Regions from separate parts of the Homo sapiens genome. Here region 1 is linked to region 2. Evidence: promoter capture Hi-C in human tissues and cell types (Jung and others, 2019). All regions are on one chromosome and are shown on one strand. Each heading gives the region's core, a stretch centred on a gene start or on the middle of the fragment in contact. The rest is flanking DNA. Distances are from core to core; before and after follow the strand shown.

Region 1 (2,700 bases), core at 38-2,537, 520 kb before region 2:
CCTGCAATAAAACTGCATTTTCCTACTACACATCATAACTTCCCTTCCTCACTCTTCAAAACGCATAAATGATAGCACTGGAATGTCTTTCCCAAAAAAGTTGAAGTGTCTTGGTCAGCAAAGCGATTATTTAGAAAAAGTAAAAAAGATTTGAATGAATGCACCTCCTTATTCAGTTATTCATCTAAATGACAATTAAGACAGACTATCCTTCATTTGAAAGGAATCTGTAAGATGACTGAATGAAGTGAGGAATTATCTCTATGAGCTCCTAGAACAATGCAAGGCTCACACATGTAGCTCTATGCACGTTACGTGTTTATTTTTCTTTTTTTAGAGACAGGGTCTTACTCTGTTGCCCATGCTGGAGTGCAGTGACTCAATCACAGCTCCCTGCAACCTTTAACTCCTGGGCTCAAGTGATCCTCCCACCACAGCTTCCCGAGTAGCTGGGACCTCAGGCATGCGCTACTGTGCCTAATTTTTTTTTTTCAGAGACAGTGTCTCACAGAGTTGCCCAGGCTGGTCTTGAACTCCTGGGCTCAAGCAATCCACCCGCCTCAGCCTCTCAAAGGGCAGGGATTACAAGTGTGAGCCACTGTGCCCAGCCAGGTACATTTTTAGAGGGCTCCCAATTGCACTGGCCTGGTTGTGTATTACTGTATATATTGTGGTTCTTGAGTTCAACTTTTCTTCCAAATCTGGAAAAAAATAAGCTTGGTTTAAGAATTCTGAAGAAGAAAACATAGGCCAGGCATGGTGACTCATGCCTGTAACCCCAGTGAGGCAGGAGAATAGGGTCTGGAGGCAGGGAACCTAAGGCCCACCCACCCTGACTGGATATAAGATATAACCCCTCCTTTTTCTGTGTGGAAAATGAAAGTAACTCTGATTGGTCCCCCCTACAACCAATCAGACTAGTCGTGGACCACTAGAGTGAACCAATGGGAAACCAATGGGAAACCTCTAGAAGGCATATAAACCCCAGAAGAACCAGTGTTCCTGAGCCTCTTGCTTCAGCCGGCTCCCACCCTGTGGAGCATACTTTCATTTAAAATAAATCTCTGCTTTCACTGCCTTGGTTTTTTGTGCATTTTGTCCAATTCTTTGTTCAAAACACCAAGGAGCTAGACAACTACCCTCAACCAGTAATGCCACTGCTTTGGGAGGCTGAGGTAGGATTGCTGGAGGCCCAGAGCTCAAGACCAGCCTGGGCAACAAAGTGAAACCCCATCTCTACAAAAAATAAATTAGCTGGGTACAGTGGCATGTGCCTGGAGGCTGAGGCAGGAGGGTCACCTGAGCCCAGGAGTTTGAGGTTGGTGAGCTATGCCACTGCATTCCAGCCTGGGCAACAGAGCGAGACCCTGTCTCTAAAAAATAAGTAATTAACAGAATAGTCTCTAAGCTAAAAATAAAAAAATTTTAAAAGAAAACATAAGTTGGTATTAGAAAATCTAAACTGTAATCAGACTGATGAAATTCAGTAGTTTATGTAAAGAACACGACGTGAGGTCATGCGTATTTACCCTCACAGTTTTCTCTACTTTTCCTCATGCATTGTTCCTTACCCACTGTTGTAGAGTAGTAAAAAAACGTGTGCATTTCTATAGGTGCCATGTCTAATGGCTTCATCACAGCTGTTAGCCATCATTAACTCTTTATGATCATCTTCATACACTTTTAAGTCTGAAGTGGATTCAAGGATCTGTAAATCTTCTGAAAGAAAATATTTGGCTAAATTTTGTGCCAAGAGAGGGACAGACTCTAAGAGGCCTTTAAATAAAAACACTAAATACCACTAATGTGAAGGATCAAGCAAGTTCTTCTATTCCTCTGACTATATGCTCAGAGTTTTTTCTAATGTTCACATTTAAAATGAACACAATGAAAAATATCTTCATTATCCAAATGTGAGCAGTACCCAAGCTTCACAGCCCTGTCTCTGCCATGGAGAGCAGGCCCACACACTGCTGCCTGCTGGAGCAACCGTGCTGGTCACAGGGCCAGAGGCAGAGAGCCCTAACAAGCAGTCAGGGCGCTAATGAGGAAGGGGGGACAACCTGTCCTCTACAGAAAATAATGAGATTAATATGTTCAACAACTCCCATCCAGAATCCAGCAGGAAGTTAAACCAAACGACACATGATTCTCTGACGAAGAAATAAGAATACGGTTGACTGGTTTTTTATATTTATTTACCTGAAAGCTTCTAATGTTTCTAACTAGTGACATATTTCAGGCCAGGAATTCTGTTTGCCTAGATCATGATGTCTAAACACTGCACACTTGACCAACTTTGGATCCAAATAACTAGCTTTGTATGCTCTTGGGCCCTGCAGTACGGCTCTGCTTCAGTGGTTTCCAGCCCTGATAGGCACTAGGATTACCAGAGGAATTTTTAAAATACCAATGGGGGTTGGGGATTCCCGTCATCAGTGCTAAAGGCTACCAGGTGAATGTAATGTGTAGCCGGGGTTTGGAACCAGTGGGTCAGACATCAATCCTGACAGTACCACGGAGGCAGACTGTTCCCCAGGCCAGATCTCTCAGCAGCTTGACAGCGCTTTAAAGAAATCATGCACTCGATTAAGATGAAGGGATCACTATTTCTGCATGCTCTAAACAGAAAGATAAATAAGCTGCCCAAGAGGTGCTCAGCCAAAACCTGGGAACGGCTTATAGAGGGCACAGTTCCCA
Region 2 (2,897 bases), core at 45-2,544:
AGATTAGTTGGAAGTGTGCGGTGGTGTCGATCATATACGTGTATGGCCAATGAAAACTGTATTGCTGTAAATCTCTTAGTGATATTTCTCCCCATCCTCCTCTCTCCATTATATTCACAACAGAAGGAAATTAAACTTTGTAAGAATTTTCTTGACTTTGGTTTAACTTTAGCTTCCCAGCTGTCTGCTCTTACAGTATCACGTAATGAGCAAAGCGGTGGGGCTAGGGGGCCGGAGGGTAGAGTGTTAACTTTAGCAAGCAGAAGAAAAGCAATAAAAGACCTTGCATCAGACAGTGTCTCTCCCTCTGCCCCCTCTTCCTCTGCTTCCCCGCCATCCCACCCCCTTCTCGAGCCCTTACACACACATTCTTCTGGGCGGCCTCTAACCACACCATCTCCACAATCATTTGCAGAAATTAGAAACAGACTCCGGGAGCCCTTCCCTTAAGCACGCACAGAGCGGAGCTGTGCAAGCACGACGGGGCAATGTCACTCCCTATTACCCCACAATCTCTTACTCCCCCTGTGGGTTTCATTCCCGAGAATCCGGCTTTCTTCCGCAGAGGAGATGGATCTACCTAATTAGCAATGGAGTTTCATCTCATTCTTCCCCACTCCAGTCACCCCACCCCCACTCTAACGTACAAAAACACCCACCACCAAAACCAAAGAAAAGTTCCTTCTACCAGGGCAACCGAGGAGTTGGGTTTAGGGACTGGAGCGAAAGCAGAGAGAGGAGGAAGAGAACGAGCGCAATGTACTTTGTTTTGCACTTCTGCACATGCAGCGCAGAGCCCAGGGCGGCTCTCGTCCTTACCGGCTGGTCCCGAGACCGGGTCCTGCTACTGGAGCGCCGGGCGAGGGCTGCAGGGACGCGGCGTCGGGGCGGGCCGCCGGCAGCCGCCGCGGGCGCCGAGAGCCACCACCACTTCTCCCACAAGCGGCTGCGGGCGTGGGCTGAAGGAGCTGTAGAAGGAGCCTGGGGAGGGGGAGAAGAGGAGCAGCATCTCCTCCTCCTCCTCCTCGCCTCGGAAACGCTCCCCAGCGGCGATCCCGGCCGACTGCCTGACCCCCGAGCGCTCAACGCACCCCCGCCGCCCTACTGTGCTCGACGCCTCTCCAAGAGCTTCGCCAAAACCTTCTGGCGCGGGCGGCTCAACTCCTGTAGGCGACTCTGACCGCTGCCGAGGCGGACCGGGGAGCTACGGAGCACGGCTCGCCAGCACGACGGTCTCCAGGGGCCGTGAGCATGGTGTGTCACCCTCGCCTCAGCGTGGCCGCTGGAGCTACTCGCACCACTGGGGCTCCACCTCGGGCAGCCGCGCCGGCTCCGCCCCCCCGGTCCTGTCACTCAACCATTCCCCGGCACTGGGAGGACCGCAGATCTCCCACCCCGAGCTCCCCTCGACCTCATTGGCCCGCCTGGCATCCAGCTCCACCTCCTCCCTAGGGACGAGGTCGCCAGGGAGACCAGCGCCCCGGTTGCCATGACAACCAGTGCCTTGGGCCTGGCTTTTCGCGTTCTTCGGACTAGCCAGAGGCTCAGGTTGGTGACCGAGCGGCAGAGTTCCTAGCGCCTGCAGTGTGGTGAACTCCAACTTTTAGGCCAAGTTGAAAATGCAGCCGACGACCCCCACACTTCTAACTTCAGAATCAAAACTATGACCCTAGGGAGTGAGGAGGAGAGTGAAAAATGCGTAAGTGCTGGCTCCTCCCTTACTCTTCGCTGCCTCTCAGCCTTGTTTCTATATTCTCACGGGGCGCTTTGGTCTTTGAAAGGAAGAGGAGAATGGGGGAGAGGAAGAGCATGGCTTTGCCAGCTCCTTGCAGCAATATAGCAACTTAGAAATGGCGGGGTCAACGAAAAAAGCCCGGTGAGTTTTCCCACGGTTGTAAAGCTATCTTCAAAAGTGTGGTGACAGCACAACGCCAAATGCCCTAGGGAAAACTGAAATTCTCATATTTTTGAAAAAAGTTTGTAAATACTTGCCTTGTTATTTTATCTATGAGACTAAAATAATCCCGAAGTTTGAAAATTTAAGGAAAAGGTTTAACATAGTCGATAACCTCCCACTTTTCTATATACACTGAAATTTGGCCAAGGTATATCCAGACAGCTGTACCCCTCCTTGCTGCAAGCCGAAATATTTGAGTTTCAATAGTTAAACAAGAGAGTCTTGCTGAATTCATGAACAAATAATATCCTGTGATTTGAGTTTTGAAAGTTTTGGGTTATTCTCAGAGGTATAAGGTAAACTGGTCCACTCTGGAAAGGGTACCTGAAGATAAATTTAGTCTGAGACCCTTAATGTTGAGCCCTAGGTAAATCTGAATTTCATGGCTGGCTCCAAAGTGGAGAGATCTGAGGCTTATTTGGCTTCCCCAAAAAAAGTCAAAGCAGCAATCCTAGGTTCCCTAGCCCCTGAGGCTGCCATACATGTATGATGAATGAGGGAATTAATAGTAATGATTTATCTTTGGCGAGCACTTGAGTTTTCATTATATCATTTACTAAATGAATAACTATGATAGATATCTTCAGTCAAATATGCCTTACAAGTATGCATTGAATGTGATTACTCATAGGGCTAAACACAACGGAAAATACACAGCAGGATTTTAAGCTAAGTCCCCGCTCCCAAGGAGCTAACCTGGAGCCTAAGAAAGAAAACTAGCACTCTTGAAACAATTTGAGAACAATTATAGCTAAAATGTGCAGCCAAACTTTGAGTAGGTAGCAGCTAAGAGAAAGTTTGCTATGTAAAATGGGCTGGATTCCTCAGTTTATGGAAGAGGGGAATTTACACTGGGCTTTGATGAATGCAGCAAAGATGAGGAAAGTCAGTTGAGGGGAACAACAAAAACTAAACAGCAGCAGCAGGGATAAGTGGTGAA

What was found. The method cuts DNA at HindIII sites, captures the fragments that hold promoters and counts their contacts. A contact is called where the count stands out against the background at its distance.
Region 1: a contact is called between a fragment that was not itself captured here and the fragment with the promoter of PTPN13 in region 2, in 1 of the 25 tissues and cell types used here (hippocampus).

Annotation. Positions count from the first base shown.
Region 1 is chr4:87,117,207-87,119,906 of GRCh38, reverse strand. All of the region lies in intron 12 of AFF1 (ALF transcription elongation factor 1), which reads right to left. Among named protein-coding and RNA genes, the nearest start is that of KLHL8, 100 kb to the left of the region's middle. The HindIII fragment of the contact is 4,409 bases long and covers 1-2,700 here.
Region 2 is chr4:86,592,712-86,595,608 of GRCh38, reverse strand. PTPN13 (protein tyrosine phosphatase non-receptor type 13) reads right to left here and starts at 1,294. Exons shown (of 48, transcript NM_080683.3): 1 at 820-1,294. It also overlaps a transcript of MAPK10 not described here. RefSeq lists an enhancer at 1,057-1,643. The HindIII fragment of the contact is 10,688 bases long and covers 1-2,897 here.